Regions from separate parts of the Homo sapiens genome. Here regions 1, 3 and 4 are each linked to region 2. The links are contacts of gene promoters, found by promoter capture Hi-C in human tissues and cell types (Jung and others, 2019). All regions are on one chromosome and are shown on one strand. Each heading gives the region's core, a stretch centred on a gene start or on the middle of the fragment in contact. The rest is flanking DNA. Distances are from core to core; before and after follow the strand shown. Region 1 has its middle 19 kb from the start of SLC22A25. Region 2 holds the start of CHRM1 (cholinergic receptor muscarinic 1). Region 3 overlaps SLC22A25 (solute carrier family 22 member 25). Region 4 has its middle 59 kb from the start of SLC22A9.

Region 1 (3,199 bases), core at 186-2,685, 340 kb before region 2:
AGAGGAGTTTAGATGCTCAATGCCATCTAATAGTCTCAGTTAAAACTTGTGACCTTTGAGTCTATCTCACTTACATATTACCTGTATATATTTCTGGGTTAGAGAGTTCATTTTCCCCTTGTGTTCAGACTTAGGCCTCTGTGCCATTAATTCAAATAGCAGAATTAATGAATTAATTAAACATTCGAATTTAAAAAGTGAATAAATAAGGTTTCTCAGGTCATAGGTCCAAGTTAATATCCATTAACAGTAAAAAGATGGGCAGAGGGGGCCAAGATGGCCTATTAGAAGCAGCTGCAGTTGGTGGCGCCCACCAAGAAGAGCAAAAATGGTGAGTGGATCCTGTGCCTTCAACTGAGGTATCCAGGTTCTCTCATTGGGACTGACTAGGCGGTTGGCATGATCCACTGAGAGTAAGAAAAAGCAAGATGGAACGAGGGCCCACCCAGGAGTTGCATGGAGTAAGGGGAGCCCCCACTCCCAGCCAAGGGAGGGAGTGAGTGATTGTGGTACCCTGCCTGAGAAACCACGCTCTTTCCACGGATCTGTGCAACCCATGGATCAAGAGATCCCTCGTGAGCCCACACCACCAGGGCCTTGGGACCCAAGCACAGAGCTGTGCAAGCTCTTGGTGGCTGCCCAGGTTGCAGCCAGTGGCAGCAGGACAGAGACTGCCTAAGAAGACAACCATCACTGTGGCTCCAGTCTGCTGTTCTCCCCTGCTGGTGCCAGGAAGACTGGGCAGTTTGGACCAGCAGGAATTCTCCGCAGCATGGAACAGCAGCTGTGGCAGATTGTGGCCAGACCCTCTGGTCCCAAATGATTCCATCCCTCTGATGTACTACATTATCATGTGTGAAATGTCCAGAAAAGTATTATTTCATTATAGCACACACTCAAAGTCCAGAATCTTACCATTTAAATGAGGTTCAAGTGTAAGTGAGACTACTTACATGGAGTTCTCTGGCTTTTATCTTTGTATTTGTTAATCTGTGAAACTGAAGAGACAAGACACTTGTCTCCAAAACACTCAACACACAATAATAATACAAGCATCCAATTACTACTGTAGACATTCCCGTTCAAAATGGAGGAGACGTGAGACACAAGGAGTTCAGAGCAATTATGAAGTGCACTTAGGCAAATATTAGAAGTTCCTTGAATAGGTCTGGAGGCATGAAAAATGAAAGCAATTTGGCTCTCAGCCACAGCCTCGTGCCACTTGGATCCAACATTTTTTTTAAAAGACAGAACATACCTCTAAGTGAATAGTATTCTCAGCTACCTTCCCACCCAGAGCATTTTGAGGACTACACAGCCTTTTTATTTTTGTACTGTCTTTGCCCCTTGCAGTCAAATTGGCAGCATTTTTCTGATAAAGATTTCTTTAAAAAGTTGTGGATGTTCTGTGAATCTCTTTGTGGTTTATCTTATTAGAGAAAATCTACCCCAACAAATATCTTTGAGATAAACTTTTCACCTTGGGCTTCTGCTGAGATGGTGAAGAAACAGTGCACCTAAGTATCCTAGAGCCTCTGTTGTTTGATTGAGGGGCATGTCCTTAATCTTTTTAAAGGCCCTTTGTTTCTCAGTAATACACAGAATCTTTGACCTTTCTGGGACCTTAAGAAATGTTGTACCGGGCAGACCTGGCAAGACGGCCAAATAGGAACAGCTCCGGTCTGCAGCTCCCGGTGAGATCAACATAGAAGGCAGGTGATTTCTGCTTTTCCAACTGAGGTACCCGGCTCGTCTCATTGGGACTGGTTAGACAGTGGGTGTAGCCCATGGAGGGTGAGCCGAAGCAGGGTGGGGCATTGCCTCACCCCAGAAGTGCAAGGGGTCAAGGAACTCCCTCCTCTAGCCAAGGGAGGCCTTGAGGGACTGTGCCATGAGGAACAGTCCCAGCCCAGATACTATGCTTTTCCCATGGTCTTCCCAACCCACAGACCAGGACATTCCCCAGGGTGCCTACACCACCAGAGCCCTGAGTTTCAAGCACAAAACTGGGTGGCCGTTTGGGCAGACACCAAGCTAGCTGCAGGAATTTCTTTTCATATCCCAGTGGTGCCTGGAATGCCAGCAAGACAGCCATTCACTCCCCTGGAAAGGGGGCTGAAGCCAGGGAGCCAAGTGGTCTAGCTCAATGGATCCCACCCCCATAGAGCCCAGCAAGCTAAGATCCACTGGCTTGAAATTCTCCCTGCCAGCACAGCAGTCTGAAGTCGACCTGGGAACTAAGCTTGAGCTTAGTGCGGGGAGGGGCATCTGCCATTACTGAGGCTTGAGTAGTTGGTTTTCCCCTTACAGTGTAAAAAAGCCACAGCGAAGTTCCAACTGGGCAGAGACCTCCACAGCTCAGCAAAGCCACTATAGCCATACTGCCTCTCTAGATTCCTCCTCTCCAGGCAGGGCATCTCTGAAAAAAAGGCAGCAGCCCCAGTCAGGGGCTTATAGATAAAATTCCCATCTCCCTGGGACAGAGCACCTGGGGGAAGGAGTGGCTGTTGGCGCAGCTTCAGCAGACTTAAACGCCACTGCCTGCAGGCTCTGAAGAGAGCAGCAGATCTCCCAGCACAGTGCACTAGCTCTGCTAAGGGTCAGACTGCCTCCTCAAGTGGGTCCCTGACACCCATGTCTCCTGACTGGGAGACACCTCCCAGCAGGGGCTACAGACACCTCATACAGGAGAGCTCCGCCTGGCATCTGGTATGTGCCCCTCTGGGATGAAGCTTCCAGAGGAAGGAACAGGCAGCAATCTTTGCTGTTCTGCAGCCTCCACTGGTGATACCAGTCAAACAGTGTCTGGAGTGGACCTCCAGCAAACTCCAGCAGACCTGCAGCAGAGGGGCCTGACTGTTAGAAGGAGAACTAACAAACAGAAAAAAATAGCATCAACATCAACAAAAAGGATGTCCATTCAGAAACCAATGCCAAAGATCAAAGGTAGATATACCTATGAAGATGGGGAGAAACCAGCACGAAAAGGCTGAAAATTCCAAAAACCAGAATGCCTCTTCTTCCCCAAAGGATCACAACTCCTCACCAGCAAGGAAACAAAACTGGGTGGAGAATGAGTTTGACAAATTGACAGAAGTAGACTTCAGAATGTGGGTAATAATAAACTCCTCCAAGCTAAAGGAGCATGTTCTAACCCAATGCAAGGAAGCTAAGAACCTTGAAAAAGATTACTGGAACT
Region 2 (3,023 bases), core at 6-2,505:
GAAGGCAGTCCCTGCAGCCTCCAACTCTCCTCCCCAGTCAGCTCCCGGGGAGGTCTCTAGGGCCAAACAGAGGCGGTGCAGGACCCACATCTCTAGGGCAAACGGCCCCCCAGGGGTTCTATCTCTGAGGAAGCTCAACACAGAAGTCCAGACCAGCCTGGCAGGGAGGGATGCTGGCCTCACCCAGTAGGGCTGAGGGAGATTGGGAGGAGGGCTCATCTCCTCCCAGGTACACACCTGTGAGCCCTGAGTGGGAGTCAGGGGAGACAGAGCTTGACAAGCTGGGAGGAGAGCTGTCTGTCTGCCTGTCTGTCTTCCAAGTGGAAGCTTGGGGTGGAGCAGGCAGGTAGAGGCTGCCTCACTTGTCAGAATTAGCAAGTTCCACAGTTGGGCAACACTCAGCCACACATCAGATACAGACACACGTGTGCACACGCGTCCTGCCTCCAGACTGATAGGGTCACACCTGCACTTACACAGGCTGCATGGTGACATGAGTACACAGGGACACACATATGCAAGGCACTCAGCCGCACATGGGGCAGGCACCTGGCCCTCTACTCATCCCCGAAAAGCAGACACCCATATACCCTCACAACAGGCTATGCATAGCCCAATGCTAGCGCACACAGCCCAGCATGCGGGCACGTTCACTCAGCCCCCGGGCGGGTGCGCCAGCCCTCTGGGTCTGTTCCAAGTTGGAGCCTCTCACGTGAGGCCCAATGTGTCATTTCCAAACAGAAGGAATCTAGCTCTCTCACAGCAGGGAGGAAGAGCAGGGTGTGTAGTTGGGTGGGTGGGTGCGTGGGCATGTGCAGGGGGGAGGGCGTGTGTGCGAGGGAAGCAGGCATGTGAATACCAGGGCATGTGTGTTGGGGCATGGTGCACAGGGGCTGGGGGCTCTAAGGTTGGGTGGGGGGAGGAGCCCAAGGAAACAGTGTGCCTTTGTGAGGGTGTGTGTGCCGCCGGGTCTGTGCAGTGGGTGTGGGTGTTTGTCTCCCTGTATCCGCCTTCTCTCCCGTCCGGGACTTTTAGCCTTCCTGGGCTCGCCTTCCTCATGTCCTTTCTCCTCCCTCTTGGGGCTCAAATTGGGTGCCCTGGTGAAGGAGGGGGGCACACTCCAGAACCTAGTCCAACCCCAGACGCTGCCTGAGGCTTCCCTCCAGCTCCCCTCCCTTCCTTTTCTCCCTTTCCTCCCTCCCTCTCTTTCCCTTTCTCCCTCCCCGCTAAGGCTGGCGTGCCAGGGGGTGGGACATGCCAATCACTGGCTGTGCCTCTCCCGCTGCCAGCACAGGGCGCAGCTCCCCCTGGGAGCCAGGTGTTTGGGTCCCTGGAGACGCCGCAGGCCCCCAGGGAGGCAGTGGGGCTGAGGACCCTACAGACCCCTCTTCAGCCCCGTGGTGAGTACATTTGGGAGGGCTTGGGAGGGGCTGCACTAAGGTAGAGGGTAGGAGGGTCCTGGGGAGCGGGGGAGGGCAGGGATCAGGATGAGATGGAAATAGGGATGGACTCACAGAGATAGGAGGAGGCCAGGGAGGGGTCTAGAGGGCAAGGGGGCTCTGTAGCATTGAACACTGACTGCTCCAAACACTCGGCCTCCTGGCTTTGAGTGGATATAGCTGATGTTTTTCTGGGCTTCTGCTGGCAGAGGAGATGGAGATCCCCCTCAGGAAACTGGACCTGAGGCCCAGAAGGGATTAGGCTGCCTGGTAGCAAGCAGAACCCCCAACACCCTAGGGGCAGAGTGGGAAGGGCAAAGGGCCAGGAAGCAGCCCTTGCCACCAGCATCCTGTGGGAGGTTGACCCCCATCTTGATGGGGGTGCCAGTCCCAGAACCTCCTGTCCTCCCTCAGGGCACCCTGAAACCCACCACCCCCGTCCACCTCAGCTCCCCCAAGATGGACTGAATCAGGCTGCTGGCCAGATAGAGAAGCTAGAAGCCAAGGTGGGTGTCAGGCCAGAAGCCAGCAGGAGACCAGGCAAAGAGCCCCAGGGCTCTTTGGGGACAAATGGGCATGTGGGTGGCCACACTAGCCAGGGAAGGTGGCCCTGACGTGCGCAGGGGCCCAGAGGACCCTCCTTATGTTTCTAGTATCTTGGGCTCCCGCAGGGTGGGTCTCAGTCCTATATCCAGGCAATGCATGGATACCAATGGGCACCCACGCCAGGTACTCACCCCAGTGCCCGCAGACTGCACAACATGGGGATGGGCTAGGGGCCAGGAACTCTGATGCTTGTAGAGTTGTCAGCTCCTGGGCAGGCCAGCTGGGGAGGGGGTCGTCAGCTCTCATTAGGTCATCCAGACATGTGCAGCTTAGAGGTTATCAGAGCCAATGGAGAGGGGTTCACATCTTTGCACAAAACACACCTGCAGCTCCACCCAGACTGACCCAAGACCCCTGCCCAACTGGCTGGAAGGAGTCAGGCAGTCTCCAGTAGCCAGACAGTCTCCTTTCTCAGGGTAATCAGCTGTTCAGTGGGCTGTCAGATGAGAGTTCTCTGCCCTCTGACCTCAGCCACCAGGCAAGCTGCAGTCGCTATCGCGGCTGAGATATGAAAGGGAAGGAGATAGTGAAATGGGCTGCAGAAGATGTGGGTCTTGGCTCGCAGCTGACAGCTGGCGGTTGGAGTTCTGAGAACTGGATTCTGAAGTGTAATGGGGAGTCCAAAGTGTCAAGAAGGGGCTAACCAGAGGTCATGTCAGACCTAGAAAGGAGGCTTTCTATTGTATGGAGGGACTGAGGCTGAGAAAGGGAAAGGGACATGCTCATGGTCGGAGAAGGGATATGTAGGGATCCAGCTGGGGCTCGGACCCCTTCTCCGCATCCTCAGCACAACACTGCGCTGCCGCCTCCATGAGCAGGAAGATGGGGTGGGAGAGCAGGGGGCGCAGTAAGCTCTGAGACGCAGAAGCTTGGGCTCCCAGCAGGCGGGGAGAGGTGGGTGAATTGCGCTGGGTTTCTGCTCTGCTGTGGTGCCATGGTGATGCCTACAAGGATGGAGGAGGGAGGGAGAGAGAAGAA
Region 3 (3,118 bases), core at 45-2,544, 290 kb before region 2:
GTCTCCCATGGCCACAGGGCTGTAGTCCCACAGGCAAAGGAGACAGTAAATCTGTCATCTCCAATCCTGGATGAGTCCCCAGAAATGTTGCAGGATTGTTAAGGAATCAGAGAGACCAATGGGGTTCAGGAGGATAGTTATTATTTAGGTGTGCTGGCCCAGTCAGATTAGCATCCAAAGGACTGAGCCCTGAACAAAGACTTAAGTTACCTTTTAAGCATTTCGTGGGGTAGGGGGAGATCTGTGCAGGGGGAAGCATATTACAGAAGTGAGAAACAAAGACAGTTATTCAATTAATTAAGACATGCATTACATCATTTCTTACATTTCAAAAACAAACATGTTTTACGACTTGAGTTTATCTGTCTAGTGACCTTGCAGCTACACATCTAGAGAAACAGGGTCTTCACAATGCCTAGGAAAGAAGGAGAGATAAGGCTCACTAGCCACAGAAAAATAGGCAGTTAATTTTTAAAGGACTCCAGCTCTTTCTTTTTCTCAGGGGGAATTGGGTTTTCTTACATACAGCTGAGTTTCTGCTTACACATTCTTTCATTTCTCTTAATTCCTGTTCCAAGATGGTATCACATTGTGGTTTTGATTTGCATTTCTCTAATGACCAGTGATGATGAGCTTTTTTTCATATGTTTGTTGGCTGCATAAATGTCTTATTTTGAGAAGTGTCTGGTCATATCCTTTACCCACTTTTTGATGGAGTATTTTTTTCTTGTAAATTTATTTAAGTTCCTTGTAGATTCTGGATATTAGCCCTTTGCCAGATGAATAGATTGCAAAAATTTTCTCCCCTTCTGAAGGTTGCCTGTTCACTCTGATGATAGTTACCAATGCTGTGCAGAAGCTCTTTAGCTTAATTAGATCCCATTTATCAATTTTGGCTTTTGTTGCCATTGCTTTTTGTGTTTTAGTCATAAAATCTTTGTCCATGCCTATGTCCTGAATGGTAATGCCTAGGTTTTCTTCTAGGGTTTTTATGCCTTTAGGTCTTACATTTAAGTCTTTAATTCATCCTGAGTTAATTTTTGTATAAGGTGGACCCCTCAGTTTTCTGTATATGGCTAGCCAGTTTTCCCAGCACCATTTATTAAATAGGGAATCCCTTCCCCATTGCTTGTTTTTGTCAGGTTTATCAAAGATCAGATGGTTGTGGATGTGTGAAATTATTTCTGAGGGCTCTGTTCTGTTCAAGTGGTCTATGTATCTGTTTTGGTACCACTGCCATGCTGTTTTGGTTACTGTAGCCTTGTAATGTAGTTTGAAGTCAGGTAACATGATGCCTCCAGCTTTGTTCTTTTTGCTTAACATTGCCTTGGCTACGTAGGCTCTTTTGTAGTTCCATATGAAATTTCAAGTACTTTTTTCTAATTCTGTGAAAAAGTCATTTGTAGCTTGTTGGGGATAGCATTGAATCTTTAAATTACTTTGGGCAGTATGGCCATTTTTATGATATTGATTCTATCCATGAGCACAGAATATTTTTCCATTGTTTGTATTTTCTCTTATTTCCTTGAGCAGTGGTTTGCAATTCTCCTTGAAGACATCCTTCACATCCCTTGTGAGTTCTATTCCTAGGTATTTTATTCTCTTTGTAGCAACTGTGAATGAGAGTTCACTCATGATTTGGCTCTCTGTTTTTCTATTATTTGTGTATAGGAATGCTTGTGATTTTTGCACATTGATTTTGTATCCTGAGACTTTGCTGAAGTTGCTTATCAGCTTAAGAAGATTTTGGACTGAGACAATGGGGTTTTCTAAATAAACAATCATACTGTCTGGAAACAGAGAGATTTTGACTTCCTCTCTTCCTGTTTGAATACCCTTTATTTCTTTCTCTTGCCTGATTGGCCTGGCCAGAACTTCCAATACTATGTTGAATAGGAGTAGTGAGAGACACCACCCTCATCTTGTGCTGGTTTTCAAAGGGAATGCTTCCAGCTTTTGCCCATTTAGTATGATATTGGCTATAGGTTCATAATAAATAGCTGCTATTATTTTGAGATACGTTCCATCAATAACTAGTTTATTGAGAGTTTTTAGCATGAAGTGGTGTTCAATTTTATTGAAGGCCTTTTCTGCATCTATTGAGATAATCATGTGGTTTTTGTCATTTGTTCTGTTTATGTGATGGATTTGCTTACGTGGAACCAGCCTTGCATCCCAGGGATGAAGCTGACTTGATGGTGGTGGATAAGCTTTTTGATGTGCTGCTGGATTCAGTTTGCCCATATTTTATTGAGGATTTTTGCACTAATGTTCATCAGGAATATTGGCCTGAATTTTTTTGTTGTGTTTCCAACGGGTTTTGGTATCAGGATGATGCTGGCCTCATAAAATGAGTTTGGGAAGAGTCCCTTTTATTCTGTTGTTTGGAATAGTTTCAGAAGGAAGGGTACCAACTTCTCTTTGTACCTCTGGTAGAATTCGGCTGTAAATCTTTCTGGTCCTGGCCTTTGGTTGGTTGGTAGGCTATTAATTACTGCCTCAATTTCAGAACTTGTTATTGGTCTATTCAAGGATTCAACTTCTTCCTGGTTTAGTCTTGGGAGAATGTATATGTCCAGGAATTTATCCATTTCATCTAGATTTTCTACTTCATTTGCATAGGGTTGTTTATAATATTCTGTGATGGCAGTTTGTATTTCTATGGGATCAGCAGTGATATCCCCTTTATCATTTTTTATTGTGCCAATTTGATTCTTCTCTCTTTTCTTCTGTATTAGTCCTGCTAGCGGTCTATTTTGTTATTTTTTTCAAAAAACAGCTGCTGGATTCATTGATTTTTTGAAGGGTTTTCATGGTTCTATCTCTCATTTCTGCTCTGATCTTAGTTATTTCTTGTCTTCTGCTAGCTTTTGAATTTGTTTACTCTTACTTCTCTAGTTCTTTTCATTGTGATGTTAGGATGGTAATTACAGATGTTTCCCACTTTCCTCTGTGGGCATTTAGTGCTATAAATTTCCCTCTAAACACTGTTTTAAATGTGTCCCAGAGACTCTGGTACATTGTATCTTTGTTCCCATCGGGTTCAGAAAATGTATTTTTTTCTGCCTTAATTTTGTTATTTACCCAATAGTCATTCAGGAGCAGGTTGTTCAGTGTC
Region 4 (3,032 bases), core at 288-2,787, 510 kb before region 2:
TGTGTGGGAGTCTAAGTCTCTTTGTAGGTCTCTAAGAACTTGCTTTATGAATCTGCGTGCTCCTGTATTATAAAGTCTGTTTTATCAGAGACTAGGATTGTAAACTCTGTTTTTTTTTCTTTCCATTTGCTTGGTAAATATTTCTCCATCCCTTTATTTTGAGCATAAGTGTGTCTTTGCACTTGAGATGGGTCTCCTGAATACAGCACACTGATGAGTCTTGACTCTTCATCCAGTTTGCCCATCTGTGCCTATTAATTGGGGCATTTAGCCCACTTACCTTTAATGCTAATATTGTTATGTGTGAATTTGATCCTGTCATTATGGTGCTAGCAGGTTATTTTCCCCATTAGTTGATGCGGTTTCTTCATAGTGTCGATGGTCTTTACATTTTGGTTTGTTTTTGCAGTGGCTGGTACCACTTTTTCCTTTCCATATTTAGTGCTTCCTTCAGGAGCTCTTTAAGGCACACCTGATGGTGACAAAATCCCTCAGCACTTGCTTGTTTGTAAAGGATTTTATTTCTCCTTCACTTATGAAGCTTAGTTGGCTGGATATGAAATTCTGGGTTAAAAATTTTTTCTTTAATAATGTTGAATATTAGCCCCCACTCTCTTCTGGCTTGTAGGGTTTCTGCTGAGAGATCTGCTGTTAGTCTGATGGGCTTCCCTTTGTGGGTAACCTGACTTTTCTCTCTGGCTGCCCTTAACATTTTTTCCTTCATTTCAACCTTGGTGAATATGATGATTATGTTTCTTGGGGTTGCTCTTCTCCAGGAGTATCTTTGTGGTGTTCTCTCTATTTCCTGAAGTTGAATGTTGGCCTGCCTTGCTACGTTGGGGAAGTTCTCCTGGATAATGTCCTGAAGAGTGTTTTCTAACTTGGTTCCATTCTCCCATCACTTTCAGGTACACCAATCAAACATAGATTTGGTCTTCATATAGTCTCATGTTTATTGGAGGCTTTATTTGTTTCTTTTCACCCTTGTTTCTCTAGTCTTGTCTTCTCACTTTATTTCATTAATTTGATCTTCAATCACTGATATCCTTACTTCCACTTGATCTAATCGGCTATTGAAGCTTGTGTATGCTTCATGAAGGTCTCATACTGTGGTTCTCAGCTCCATCAGGCCATTTAAGCTCTTCTCCTTACTGGTATTCTAGTTAGCCATTCGTCTAACCTTTTTTCAAAGTTTAGTTTCCTTGCAATGGGTTAGAACATGCTCCTTTAGCTCAGAGAAGTTTGTTATTACCGACCTTCTGATGACTACTTTTGTCAATTTGTCAAACTCATTCTCCATCCAGTTTTATTCCCTTGCTGTTGAGGAGTTGTGTTCCTTTGGAGGAGAAGAGGTATTTTGGTTTTGGAATTTTCAGCCTTTCTGCTCTGGTTTCTCCCCATTTTTGTGGTTTTTGTCTACGTTTGGTCTTTGATGTTGGTGACCTATGGATGGGGTTTTGTTGTGGATGTCCTTTTTGTTGATGTTGATGCTATTCCTTTCTGTTTGTTAGTTTTCCTTCTAACAGTCAGGCCCCTCATCTGCAGGTCTGTTGGAGTTTGCTGGAGGTCCACTCCAGACCCTGGAGTATTACCAGGTTTGCCTGGGTATTTCCAGTGGAGGTTGCAGAACAGCAAATATTGCTGCCTGATCCTTTCTCTGGAAGCTTTGTCCCAGAGGGACACCTGCCTGTATGAGGTGTCTGTCGGCCCCTACTGTGAGGTGTCTCCCCATCAGGAATCATGGGGTCATGGACCCACTTGAGGAGGCAGTCTGTCCATTATCAGAGCTTGAACTCTGTGCTGTGAGAACCACTGCTCTTTTCAGAGCTGTTAGGCAGGGAGGTTTAAGTCTGCAGAAGCTGTCTCCTGCCTTTTGTTCAGATATGCCCTGCCCCTAGAGGTGGAATCTAGAGAGGCAGTAGGCCTTGCTGAGCTGTGGTGGGCTCCGCCCAGTTTGAAGTTCCCTGTTGCTTTGTTTAGACTGTGGGCATAGAACTGCCTACTCAAGCCTCAGTAGTAGTGGATGCCCCTCCCCCTGCCAAGCTCCAACATCCCAGGTTGATCTCAGACTGCTGCATTAGCAGCGAGCAAGGCTCCATGGGTGTGGGACCTGTCTAGTCAGGCTTGGGAGGGAATCTCCTGGTCTGCTGGTTGTGATGACCCTGGGAAAAGTGCAGTATTTGGGCAGGAGTGTACCATTCCTCCAGGTACAGTCACTCCCAGCTTTCCTTGGCTAGGAAAGGGAAATCCCCCAACCCCTTGCACTTCCTGGGTGAGGTGATGCCCTGCCCTGCTTTGGCTCACCCTCCATGGGCTGCACCCACTGTCCAACCAGTCCCAATGAGATGAACCAGGTACCTCAGTTGGAAATGCAGAAATCACCCATCTTCTGCATCGATCTCACTGGGAGCTGTAGACTGGAGCTGTTCCTATTAGGCCATCTTGGAAGTGACCTATCTCAAACTTTTAACCGTTTCTTTCCAGAAGAAAAATTTGAAACATTAAGGGAAAACAGTTGGGTAAAATATCCATTTGCTTTTCAAAACCCTGAATCAATAATTGAGCTAAACTTGGTGCCTGAAGAAGAGAATGAATTATTGCAGTTTAGTTCTTCATATACATTAAAGAATGATTATGAGACCTTAAGCTTATCAGCATTTTGGAATAAGGTAAAGGAAGACTTTCCATTGTTAAATAGAAAGAGTGTCCTGCTATTACTACCATTCACAACAACTAGTTTGTGTGAACTAGGGTTTTCTATCTTAACCCAGTTAAAAACAAAGGAAAGAAATGGCTGAATGGTGTAGCAGCTATGCAGGTAGCATTATCTTCCTATGTTCCAGACTGGAATGAACTTAGGAACAGGCAAGCACACCCATCATAATAAATAAAATCTTACCTAAAAAAAGATGTACAAATGGCTAATAGGTATATGAAAATCTGCTCAACATCACCTATTACAAGGGAAGTGCAAATCACTTGAATGGGAGAAAATATTTGCAAAGTGCTCATCCAAAGGGGACTAATATGTA

The links. The method cuts DNA at HindIII sites, captures the fragments that hold promoters and counts their contacts. A contact is called where the count stands out against the background at its distance.
Region 1: a fragment that was not itself captured here is called in contact with the fragment with the promoter of CHRM1 in region 2 in 2 of the 25 tissues and cell types used here (dorsolateral prefrontal cortex and thymus).
Region 3: a contact is called between a fragment that was not itself captured here and the fragment with the promoter of CHRM1 in region 2, in 2 of the 25 tissues and cell types used here (mesendoderm cells and spleen).
Region 4: a fragment that was not itself captured here is called in contact with the fragment with the promoter of CHRM1 in region 2 in 5 of the 25 tissues and cell types used here (H1 embryonic stem cells, dorsolateral prefrontal cortex, mesenchymal stem cells and 2 more).

Annotation. Positions count from the first base shown.
Region 1 is chr11:63,260,721-63,263,919 of GRCh38, reverse strand. No RefSeq gene overlaps it. Among named protein-coding and RNA genes, the nearest start is that of SLC22A25, 19 kb to the right of the region's middle. The HindIII fragment of the contact is 6,692 bases long and covers 1-3,199 here.
Region 2 is chr11:62,919,595-62,922,617 of GRCh38, reverse strand. CHRM1 (cholinergic receptor muscarinic 1) reads left to right here and starts at 1,255. Exons shown (of 2, transcript NM_000738.3): 1 at 1,255-1,400. It overlaps LOC105369333 (a long non-coding RNA gene), which reads right to left and starts at 2,458. Exons shown (of 5, transcript XR_002957251.2): 1 at 2,177-2,458. RefSeq lists an enhancer at 397-931. The HindIII fragment of the contact is 6,896 bases long and covers 1-3,023 here.
Region 3 is chr11:63,205,032-63,208,149 of GRCh38, reverse strand. The region is part of intron 7 of SLC22A25 (solute carrier family 22 member 25); the gene reads left to right. Among named protein-coding and RNA genes, the nearest start is that of SLC22A25, 37 kb to the left of the region's middle. The HindIII fragment of the contact is 3,713 bases long and covers 1-3,118 here.
Region 4 is chr11:63,427,208-63,430,239 of GRCh38, reverse strand. No RefSeq gene overlaps it. Among named protein-coding and RNA genes, the nearest start is that of SLC22A9, 59 kb to the right of the region's middle. The HindIII fragment of the contact is 3,761 bases long and covers 1-3,032 here.